3 separate regions of the Homo sapiens genome follow, and all the other regions are linked to region 2. The links are contacts of gene promoters, found by promoter capture Hi-C in human tissues and cell types (Jung and others, 2019). All regions are on one chromosome and are shown on one strand. Each heading gives the region's core, a stretch centred on a gene start or on the middle of the fragment in contact. The rest is flanking DNA. Distances are from core to core; before and after follow the strand shown.

Region 1 (3,752 bases), core at 891-3,390, 540 kb before region 2:
CTCTACCCTCATGATACCATAGGGTCTCCCAGCCCAAGGAAGAGGCAATACTTCCTAGGTTATCCCAGCAAATTCAAAGCTAAGAGCTCAGGTGCATTTGGTTTGGATCATAACATTTCAGGTATGTTGAGAGAACAGGAAAGGACTCACCCTTCGTAAAACAGGAAATAGCATGGATTTTTTTCTTCAATGTCTCTAATAATCTTCTGTTGTGTTAGGTAAAAGATAGGGTGGAGTAGATCTAAGGGAACCATCCCTCAAGGGTCCAGTCCCACTTTACACCCTTACATAACAGCAGAAACCCAAAAGGACCAAAGCATGCAGGGAACAAGCCAGTAGCTTTTTCTACTACCTTATTCATACCCCCTCCTGCTCCCTGGTCCCCTGCCTCTGGAAGATAACCAGGGCCTGTGTCCCCTCCACTCTCCAAGCTCTCAAACTCTGCCCTCCAGAAAGGCTTGGACTTAATCCTCTGATTACTATCCAGGTGTAAACACCCCCACCCACAAAAAAAAAAATTCTAAGCCCCACAACCAACTAAATGGATGCCTCCTCTCCGCCAAGGGGATTTCAAAGATTAGTTAAAACTAATTTTAATTAGTTTTAATTAGATTAAAAACAGTAGTTCAGGCCACAATGGGAAGGGGAGTGGGACAGGCCTCATTATTTTCTCCTGCCTTTGGAATTCAGACAGAACCGACCAGCATTAACAGCAAAACAGAGATCTTAAGACTGACATAACAGACTCTTTGTAGAATAAGATAGCGAATTCCAACCTAAGTCTAGCATAGCATCATATGACAAATAGCAGGCCCTGAAAGTATCAAAGTATTTTATCCCAAAATATATTTCTTTGACATATTTTGAAATAGCCCTGCAAAGCTGCCTCTTGTGGGGAAAATCTACATTCTGTAGAAAATCCCCTTCCCTTTCTAGGTCTTTTCCTAATCCAGGAGAGGTTTAACTAAGAGTCTGGCACCTTTAAATTCTGGTGAGAGACATTTACCATCTATTCTCTCTGAAGCCTGCTACCTGGAAGCTTCATTTATATAACAAGAACCTTGATCTCCACATTCTCTTATCTTAACCCAGACACTCCTTTCTATTGATTCCACATTTTTAGACAATAACTTAAGTCTTTCAACCACTTGCCAATCAGAAAATCTTTGACTCCACCTATGACCTGTAAAGCCCACCCCCACCTCTACTTCAAGTTGTCCCACCTTTTCCTACCAAACCACTGTACACCTTACATGTATTGTTACATGTATTGATTGATGTCTGCCTGTAACTTCTGTCCCCCTAAAATGTATAAAATCAAATGCAACCCAACAAACTTGGGCACGTGTTCTCAGTACCTCTTGAGACTGTGCCTCAAGCCATGGTCACTCACATTTGGCTCAGAATAAGGCTTCAAATATTTTACAGAGTTTGGCTTTTTTCATCAACACAGGTGTCATTTAATCTCAGTTCCTTGGTTTCCTTACCTGTAGAATATATACCTTAAAGAAATGTCAAGAGGAATACATGAGACAATGTTTATAAATTCAGTGATAGACCGTACTGTATGTCAATGATTTTTAAGTGAGGTGTCCTGTATACATTTAGGAAATGTTGTCTAGCACACAACCATTCTTTAGTCCCATCTCCACCATCACCTTAGAGTTGCTGTGTTTTATGCTATTATGTAAGTTAAGCATTAACATGGGTGAAAATGATTTATAAAATGTAAAAACCTATGCAAATGTGATATTGCTAATAGTTTATGTACTGTGAGGTGTTACTCTTCCTAAGGGATATTTGCATTTTATTTGGAGACAAAAATCTTAAGCTAAAATTGATGCCTAATAAAGTTGGAAATTTACACGCCAGTCTAACATGTTGGGGAAAGAAAATGCAGGAAGGGTGGATGATCTCCTCAGTGTCCCCTCAAAACATTCTAGGTAGGAAGAGTAAATAGACTTTATAACTCTCTATATATAAAAGCAACACAGAGTGGCAACACAGGCCCTGGAGGTCTGGAACAGGGCCATGATATATGCAATGAAGAATTAGATACCTTCTGAAAAACAACTCCTGCTTTGCTCTTGAGCTCCAGGAGGGAAGGAATGCTTGGCCATGGAGCACCAAGAAACCATGAATCCAGAGCTTATCACCATGTGCTTGGTACTATCAGAGCTACCAAATCAGAAACAGAGTTTGTTTCTAGAAAAGGAACTCTGGTCTGTGTGTAAGTAATTAGAGGGTTACTTGGAGAGATAGACGAGTTAGTTGCAGAGACAGATGGGTCCAAACAATTCCTCATAAAAATAGGATGCTACACTTGATCTTAGTCAAAAGGCCAAGAGGTAATTACGTTTGTCAATGTAGGTTCATAAGTTATAACAAATGTACTACTTTGTAGAGGTGTTGATGGTGTGGGAGGCTGTGCGTTTGCAGGGGCTGAGGGCGTTTGGGAACTCTCTGTACCTTCTGCTCAATTTTGCTTTGAACCTTAACTGTTCTAAAAAATAGGCTTTTTTGTTAGATTTACAAATTAGTCTTTGTGCATCTCAGGCCCCCTTGTATCTCCAGCATCACACCCGTAGGCACGCGTGTGCAGGCACCCTCATAATCTCAATCACAGGGTGCTGAGCCTGCTTCCCTCTCAGATTTGCTCTCCCCTCAGGCAATTGGGAAGGGATGATGCACTTTGAGTTTAAGGATCAGAATAATTCACTATCAAAGCATCCAAATTTTATACCAGAAGTGTAGTCTGGGGAGGCCAGAGAAGAGATGCAGCTGAAAAAGAATCACATGACTGGAGAGGGGCAGACCCAGCTGAAATCCATGCCTCCTTATTCCTGCCACCCCACACACCACACTGCAGCCTGGTGGCATCTGGTATTTAGTCTTGGGTCTAGGGCAAATACGAGTGCCAGCGGAATTAGTCATATAAGCTGTTTGAAGGTGAGGGGCTTCAGTAAATTATGCCTATTTGGAGTTAATGCAGTACTGATTCCAGCAGATAGCAATGAAGGACTTCCTAATTCCTACACAAGGTTGAGAAACCCAGTATAAGCTCTTAAATCATAAAATGGTTTTTGTTCTGATCTAATATAAATAGTTTTGTTCTGATCTAACTTTTTTACAGTATCATTGTTCAGGTACAAGAAAAAAAATAAGGCCCTGGTCCTTCCCTTCTGAATGACATTTTTCCCTCTTTGACAATAAAAGATCTGAAATTCAAGTTTATTAATTCATTTGACAAAAATGTGTTCTGCTCTTGTCTGAGCAGGCTCAGAGGAGGCTGCTGTGGGAGGATATTGAGGACAACAGGACATGATGTCCCATCAGATAAAAACTGAAGAGTCTGGTTTATCCATGCAGATACATTCAAAAACAGTTCAACAACCAGATTTTCAAGATAATGGGTTTTTAACAAGACTTGCTTACTTTTGACTCTAAATCTGAAGACTTAACAAAATCATGAAGGTGACTGGATTATGCAATTCTCAGATCTGGCTGAGTTTTTTCAAAACCCTCATCCAGATATTTTGAATTACTAGACCAAAATAGGGGCTGAGATATATCTAGTTTTAATCTCCCCAGTGAATTTCATAAATGTGCTGTCAGGTTTGGGATCTTCTGATGATCTTTGATGTCTCTTCCAATACCAAGGGCCCTTGCTACTGTGAAACACCTTCCAGGGCAACAGAACCAACTCGTACTGGGCCGCTTATCTGCTCAGCTGAAGCCAGAGCGGAGAGTCA
Region 2 (4,088 bases), core at 111-2,610:
AGATAGATGGGACTTAGCCAATCCTTAATGCCAGTATATCACATCACATTCCACTCCATTAGGGGTGGATGTTTATGTAAGTTGAGGTTCTCCTATTGGTTACTGCACTCTTCTTTAGATTGTGCATACAGACCTACCCAGAGAAGCCAGTATCCATGGCTTTGGAGAGTTCAAATATTCAATTTTCCGTTCAAAAAAAGGTAAGCGAAATACTTAAGTCTCAGGCCCACTAGGACCTTAAGCCTTTCGTTTTTGTAAATATTTCACTAATAAACTGTCTACACTTTCCCAGATTGGGCAGGCCTTACATTCTATATATACTGAGAGGCACATTATCTCACTAAGCCTCAATTTCCTCATTTGTAAAAAGGATAAGAACATCAATCCTACCTTACTACTTTCACGGGATTGGTTAAAGTTAGCTTTTAAAGTATTTTCTCACTCTGGCTCCTTAATACCCTAGCTACAGTCTGACACAAGAATGACTGCAGCAAAATGTTGGCTGTATTATAATAAAAATATTTGTGGAAAGGCTTTGTTAGCTGGAAGCCATCTCAAGTATTATTCTTTATACCCCAATCTCGATTTAGGCCTCTAGGTAACCAAATTCAAAGTAACACCTCATCATCATGATGGTTGCCAAGGGGTAGGTGGAGGGACTGCAGCCCCTTCCCCACAAACAATTCCAATAAAAACACTGTTGTGCAAACAGAGCTTCACGACCAGTTCCCTGGGCCAGCTGCTCACCAGATTACCACTCCCAAACTCCCTTTTCTTTGGAAATACTGCACCTGCTGTATTTGTGGGGAGCTGTATAACTTTTGAAGTATCTAAGTGATCAGTTCCTACAATGACATCCTTGAGATATGGCCACGGAACTTTCCAAAGCAGCCTTGGCCTCCTTCATGTCCAGCAACCTGAGATAAGGCCACGCCACCGGCTAAGAGTTCCGCCAGGGGCCCAGCTCTCAGGAGGCCTCTTCGGTGCCGCCAGCCTCCCGAAGTCATCCAAGGTAGCAGGCAAATCCGGCAGCAGCAAACTAGCTCGGATTCGGCTTCGGTTTTTCTCCTGGCCGGCGCCACAGGCCCCTCCTCCGGGGCGGGCTCCTCGGTGCGAGGGCAGGAGGGGCGGAGCCGGTGGATGCCGCGGGCTCCTCCTCCCAAGGGCGGGCCGCGGGAGACCCGGCCGGCTTTGCCGGCGGGGACCGGGCTGGGGGCGGGGCCGGGCGCCGCGAGCCCCTCCTCTCGAGGGCCGGCCGGTTTGGCGGCGGCTGCGGAGGGTATCTGAGGCTCGGCTGCCAAGCCGAACGGGCTCTGGCTCCTCCCAGTGGCCGGCCGGGGCGGAAGCAGGAGGCGGGGGCAGCGTGCGCGCTGCTGGTCTTCTCTCCCGCGGCGCTGGGGCCCGCGCTCCGCTGCTGTTGCTCCATTCGGCGCTTTTCTGGCGGCTGGCTCCTCTCCGCTGCCGGCTGCTCCTCGACCAGGCCTCCTTCTCAACCTCAGCCCGCGGCGCCGACCCTTCCGGCACCCTCCCGCCCCGTCTCGTACTGTCGCCGTCACCGCCGCGGCTCCGGCCCTGGCCCCGATGGCTCTGTGCAACGGAGACTCCAAGGTCAGCGTGGGGGTCCCTGCAGCACCGCATCCCGGCGGAGGCGAGGCTCCCGGACCGGGGAGCCACCCCGCGAGGCCCTTCCCCACCCCCTTCCCCCAGCCCGTCCGCGCAGCCCTGCGCCCCGGGCAGCCACGCGTCGTAGAGTCCCTGGTCGGGGCCTGTGGCATGTTTTATCTCGGGAGCGGCGATGCTTTGTTGATCTTGTCTGCGTGTCGAGGTCCGGGCGTCGGGGAGGGCATCAGCTCCCCGCGGCCGCGTCGCTGGCCCCCGCCTCCCCCGCGCCGCTGTGGGGCGCAGAGCCCGCGAGCGCGGCGCGAGGGTGGGGGTAGGGCGGCGAGCGGGCTTGTGTGTCTGCGTGTCGGGGTGGGGGCTTCCTCGGCTCCCACCCCGTCCCTCTGGGAGGCTGGGGGCCCGTTGTGGCGATCCCGGGGCCCGCCGAAGGCAGGGCAGGGTCGGGGCCTCCTGTGCGGCGTTGGAGCTGGGCCGGCCTCTGGTCTTCCCGCCACCCCGTTTCCCGCCTGCCCTCGGCGAGGCCCGCTCCATTCCCCCCGCCAGCCTTGGGCTCCGCGGCGGTTAGGCCGGTTCTGGACGAACCCCTCGGAGCTGCACTGTCTTCCCCCTCCCCCAACGCCCCTGCAGGCCCGCGTGAGGGCTGGTGGCCCCAGGGTCGCGCACTCCGTTCTCCCTCCCCGCTTCCTTCTCAGAGAGGAAAGGGTGTGTGTCCAGGTCCCGCCCCCGTCCAGCTTGCTCCCTGTCGAGCTTGCTGGTTTGCGGGGTAACCCGCTTCCCCGCCTTTGGGGTCCCTCCCCGGGACGCGAGCCGTGCCAGCTCGCCCGAGGCCTGGGCAGTCCGGAGTTCCGGAGTGCTGGAAAAGTTGCCGCCTTGACGTACCCGGCGGGGAGAGCACGTTTGACCGCTGCTGCTCATCTCTCCTCCAACTCACTTTTCTTAGACCGTTCCTCTTACTTTCGTCCCGCTTTTGAATTGGGCACCTTCGCTTTCACCTCTGTATTAAAATTTTCATTGGCCTGGAGTTCTTTCTGACCTTCACTAAGTCAGTTTTGCCAGCGGGAAACCGTGCAGTTTTGAATTGCGATTTACTTCATTAAGATACACCTCCTCTGTACGCTGTTGAGGGCCTAGCTTTAGGAAAAAACTTAATTAAATTTCATTCGGGGGGTGGGATTGTATACTTCGAGGTGGATTTGGTGCTCTACGTCAGATAGTAGTGCCTTGTTCAGGCAGAATTTTAACATTCTTTTTAAAAGGTGCTGCTCAAGGGTCACATCTTAGGAGGTCCTCTTGAATGGTTGCTTAGCACCCGGTAATCATTCAAAAAGTATTTGTCGAACAATGAGTAAAAGATTATAAGGTAGCTGATTTTAACTCTTTTAAACCAAGGCACCAGTGGTGCTTAGGTCCAGGGAGCTGTTAAGACACACAAACCTTTAGTTTCTGACCTAAGGAGCAAATGTAAACCCCATTGTCCAGCTCTTTCCCGATTACTAGTCGACTTGCAAAGCATTTTTCTGCCTAGTTTTGAGTCTTACAACTCATTGGAAAGATTCATCTTTATGCTGATAGATGAAATAACTGGTGTTAGAAGGACTGAAATTTAATTTATGGGCTTTGAAAAATATATAGTGCATTTGAGAGGAGTATTTTCACAAAACTAAGTGACAGAAAAGTATAAGATTTGTTTCCAGAGTATATAAGAGGATTTTTCTTTTTCCTAACTGGTATTTTTTCTTTGTTTTGCTCTAGTTGGAATGACAAAGATAATCTTATCAGTTTGCTATATTTGAGCCTAGGGTGAATTAATTTTATTTCAAGGTTCTTTATGTTTTATAGCATAATTAAACATTTTAAAAACTATGTTAACAATTAGTTGTGGACTGAATTGGAAGCATTTTCAAGAGGAACATCTGGAGAATTAATATATTTCATCAAATCTATGATTATTGTATGTACCCCTGAGGAAGAAAGTCCTGACAAACCATAACATGCCAGTGATCATAAACATTTTAAGTAAAGAGATATTAAATATGGGGAAATACCTTATATCACCTACTTTATTATGCATATTTCTAAGAGGCCCACCTGGAAATAAGTAGGAGTCTTATTTTCCATAGCCTACCACTGAACCACCTTTCCCTTGGGAGGAAAGGCTTACTTTGTACATTGATTGGGCCTTGGCTGTGTGTATCTTAGTTCATAAATTAAAAGTTGGGCAAGAGCTGGTTTTGATTCCTGTTTCTGGTACATTTCAGTTATCAGGATTTTCTAAAACGGCGTTTTTGCATGATAGAAACTGGAGAGGGGCCTAAAAGCTATGAAAGCATTTGGGTTATTTTAATTATTTTTTATACACAATATTTTATTTAATTTTTAATTTATATTATTTTTTTGAGACAGGATCTTGCTCTGTCACCCAAGCTGGAGTGCAGTGGTGTGATCACAGCTCACTGCTGCCTTGACTT
Region 3 (4,131 bases), core at 742-3,241, 670 kb after region 2:
AACAAATAGTGGACACTGATGGTTTGTCAAATAAGCAAATGCATTTATTTGATACACAAATTCCATGCCACCAGTCAAACTATGGTCTGGCTTTTTTTTTTAACCAACAGTAAAGAAAACTTTTTGGGTTTTTTTGTTTCTTTTTTGAGATGGAGTCTCACCCTTGCCACCCAGGCAGTAGTAGCACGATCTCGACTCACCGCAACCTCTGCCTCCTGGGTTCAGGCAGTTCTCCTGCTTCAGCCTCCCAAGTAGCTGAGATTACAGGCGCCCACCATCACGCCTGGCTAATTTTGGTATTTTTAGTAGAGACGGGGTTTCACCATGTTGGCCAGGAGTTCAAGAAAAGTTTTTTAAAAATAATAAACCTCTAAAGTGTTACCCTAACTGTACCTTACAGTGATATGTGACTTCTCTAGTCACTCCACATTATCCAGTGATGGCACCTAGATAATAATGCACCAAAGAAAAGTAAAGAATTGCAGACTTCTAGAAGCAATGATGAAATATAATTCTCAGTTGCAGAAAATGATGATCTGGGTCATTATGCAAATGCATTCCTGCCTGTTTTTCTTCCAAGTTCTTGCATGGAGCCCAACACATCCGATAGCATGGAAGTGGAAGTTAAACTCCCGATGAATAATTTTTATAAAATTATAAAGAAAACAACTAATAACATGTATGAAATTCACATTAAATTTAGAAGTGGATAGTAAAGATTAGGACTATATTTCCTTTGGGGTGCTGCTTGTAGGAAATTACTGAATGACAACTGCTATCACCTGTGATTTCATATCCTTTTAGCTGATATTGCTAAAGAGCTTCCCAAACTTTTTCAAGTCATGGCATACACAAGAAATGATATCTGTACATACACGGGTAAAAAAATGCAAGAGATTGCTCTCAGCTGGATCCCCAAGGGCTAAAGAGATAAATATCTTGCTCACAATCAATGGGAACCTGTGAACTAAAGAGTCAAATGTATGAAAGTCCTCATGGAAAAATGCTGACAAGCACTAAAATCACTGTAAATTCCTTGGAGAGTTCTCAGAATTGCAGAAGTTCAGAAAAATTACTTTGGTCTTTTACATGTCAATATTCAGGAAAGAGGTTCTTTCTCTTACTTAACATTCCTCCAGGGTGTGAGACCCTGGTCAAGGAAAACAGTGATTCCTGTGTCTTAGTAAGTCAAACCAACATGGCAGGGTCAAGTTGACCTCCCTGGCCACTCAGGGCCAAAGCCATACAGTGGAACAGTGTGTTCTTTAACCTCGTAGGACAACTCTCATATGCCTGGGCACTATTTTTAGGTTACTACCTTGGCTGCCCTTCTTTAAGAAAAAAAAAAGAAAAAAAAAGAACTTTTCCACAAGTTTCTCTTCCTCTAGTTGGAAAATTAGAGAAATCATGTTTTTAATTTTGTGTTATTTCAGATCACAAATTCAAACACTTGTAAACATTAAGCTTCTGTTCAATCCCCTGGGAAGAGGATTCATTCTGATATTTACGGTTCAAAAGAAGTTGTAATATTGTGCTTGGAACACAGAGAACCAGTTATTAACTTCCTACTACTATTATATAATAAATAATAACAGCTCGGCCCAGGTTACTGTGACCTCTGACAGATCAAGGAAACAAGTTATTTTCTCCTCTTGTGATTACAGCACATTGCAAGACATTTTTTTCCTTTTAATAAACGTCCTAGTACTCTGAGTTTCCCTTTCAATTCATTTAATTTCAACAATCTGTCAAAAAACAGCCAATAAACAAATACTGAATTACATTCTGCTGGGTTTTTTAAAGGCTCTAGACTATAAAAACATCTTGTGTCTCCCACCCTGACCACCCTGCTACTTTTCCATATACCACAGGCCACCCATAGACACAAAGCCAGGGGGTGAAGCTGACATGGTCTATTTGGAGCCAGTAGACAGGAGGGCGATGAGTCCTGATGAAGCACTTATGGACAATATGTAGTTCCTGTAAGAAATTTAATGTTATGGAAAAATGAGTAACTCCAAATTGGTTTTTTGAGAAAATAAAGAGCCCATCTCTTTGGAATGTACTGCTTCCTTCCTGACACTTGGTGTAATCATAATGATGTGCAGCCCCATTGTCTGCAAACACAATTTGCAAGACAGAAGACCAAAAAAAAATGGAAAACATTCACAGGAAATGTGTTCCAATTTAAAAAAAACACTTTAGACAGAAACCTAGAACACATGATCACAAAGAATAATCTGAATTCCATTTAACCTTCACGAAGAGCTGATCAAAGAACATGGAGAGAAAAGAGATTTGTTTTCCTTTTCTTCCCCTAAGAGCAATGGAAAAATAAGTCTTCCCTGCAAATCAGTGTTTTGCTGCAGTTGGCTTGCAACAGCAAGGAGGTTCTAAAAGTTCGAAGCTACTCCTAGCCTCAGAACTCTACAATTTTCAGCAAATCACTCCAGCATTCCCAGAAGGTACACGTTGGAGGGTATCTGATATTTTATTACATCATAATCACCAATTGTTAAAATCTTGGCTGCACATTCCTGGATAACATCTTTAATAAATTAATAAGAGAAGACTGATTCTTGCCCAAAAGCTCAACTTAACAGCAGCTTGAAACACTATTAAGATACACTGGAATGAACCTATTTAACTGCATTGGCCATCCACCCAACCCCCAGAGCCCAAAAATAACAGGTACAGGGGCTTATTATTTCAGAAGCTATCAAAAATGACAGGTTTGCTTTGGCTCTTTGGAGCTTTTTTTTAAGGAGGCAAGGACACAGATTCCCATAGACTACTTTGTAATACTTTATCATACAGTCATAATTCATAAACTTAAAAGAATCTTAAACCAATAGCTGTTATTTTAAATGTCCAGAAAGTTATCTAAAGTCAGCACTATTTAATGGACTGACTCCCAGAGCAGTTTTTCTTTCCACTAAAATATCCAGACAAGTCAAAACCAAAATGAACTACTGTTTCTTGACTTCTAAAAAAGATAATCAACCTTGAAAAGGATACACTGTGGGGTTGAAGTTCTTCAATATGAAGAAGGAAGCAACAATGACCACGACCAGGAACAGAGTGTTGTTATAGAAGATGGAAAATGTTGTAGCTTCATAATCAGCAACTTCATTCTTCTTCCACAAGATTCTACAGACACAGAAACAAGTCAAACAAGCTTATAAATATGATTTAAAAAAACTTTTAAGTACCATATGGCTCTAGTTCATCATAAAACAAGTTTTTCCTTGAGTGTTCTAGGGTAAGAATGTGTTTGTAATATTAGATTTAGTCAGAATTGTCCCCTTTCTTCCACTGAAAAAAAATATGTCACTCTATGATAGTGAAGAAAACATCATGCTGGTTATGTTACCATTTTTCCCAGGCAACCAGGGTTATGGAAGAAAGGACTCATTAATGGCAACCCGCACGGTTTCATCAGCAGCTAAGTCAAATATCTTTCTCTTGGCCCTTACCTAAAACTCAAACTCCATGATTAGCAGCCTGTGGAGTTTCCTTGGCTATACCTTGGGCTTGAGGCTTTCTACAGCCTACGGATTTCAGACTTCAATATCACACCTTCAGAAGACAATCCCAATGACAAAAATTACCTGTGGTCTCACAGAAGTAGGCTATTGTTAGCCATCTTTATTAATTCAAACAAAAAAAGAGCGCTTAATCATTAGGAGGACTTTTTAATGCCTGTAAAATCCTTCTACTTTTTATTCTATTTTACTTGTTCTGATAGTTTATCTTATTAATTTACTGGTATTTCATCCATCTTTTCTTTTACCCCTTCACACATGCAAAAGGAAGTTATAGGATGCCTGTGAATAAGGGAGCCTTCATTCTTGTTGGTTAATTAACTTTGTAAAGCAGTTTTTAAAAGGGTAGGTTGTGACCCATTAGTGGGATGTGAACTCAATCAAGTGGATCGAATGCCCATAGAAATTAATTGAGTTGAGACCAGCATTTTAAAAAAATGAAATAGGAAAGAATAGAAAAACATCAGCAGCACATCGCACAGAGTAGGATAATTATCGTTTTATGAAACATGTGCATGTGTCCACGTGTGAGTTTATCTGGTCAAAAGGTAAAATACATATTTTTTACTGTAGGTCATTATCAAAA

Evidence for each region. The method cuts DNA at HindIII sites, captures the fragments that hold promoters and counts their contacts. A contact is called where the count stands out against the background at its distance.
Region 1: a contact is called between a fragment that was not itself captured here and the fragment with the promoter of GMPS in region 2, in 1 of the 25 tissues and cell types used here (mesenchymal stem cells).
Region 3: a fragment that was not itself captured here is called in contact with the fragment with the promoter of GMPS in region 2 in 1 of the 25 tissues and cell types used here (aorta).

Annotation. Positions count from the first base shown.
Region 1 is chr3:155,327,219-155,330,970 of GRCh38, forward strand. No RefSeq gene overlaps it. Among named protein-coding and RNA genes, the nearest start is that of STRIT1, 35 kb to the left of the region's middle. The HindIII fragment of the contact is 5,967 bases long and covers 1-3,752 here.
Region 2 is chr3:155,869,290-155,873,377 of GRCh38, forward strand. GMPS (guanine monophosphate synthase) reads left to right here and starts at 1,361. Exons shown (of 16, transcript NM_003875.3): 1 at 1,361-1,608. The coding sequence starts at 1,582. RefSeq lists enhancers at 806-855, 1,395-2,154 and a silencer at 996-2,215. The HindIII fragment of the contact is 29,940 bases long and covers 1-4,088 here.
Region 3 is chr3:156,541,290-156,545,420 of GRCh38, forward strand. SSR3 (signal sequence receptor subunit 3) reads right to left here. Exons shown (of 5, transcript NM_007107.5): 4 at 3,019-3,150; 5 at 1-1,980. The coding sequence ends at 1,914. Among named protein-coding and RNA genes, the nearest start is that of SSR3, 12 kb to the right of the region's middle. The HindIII fragment of the contact is 4,353 bases long and covers 1-4,131 here.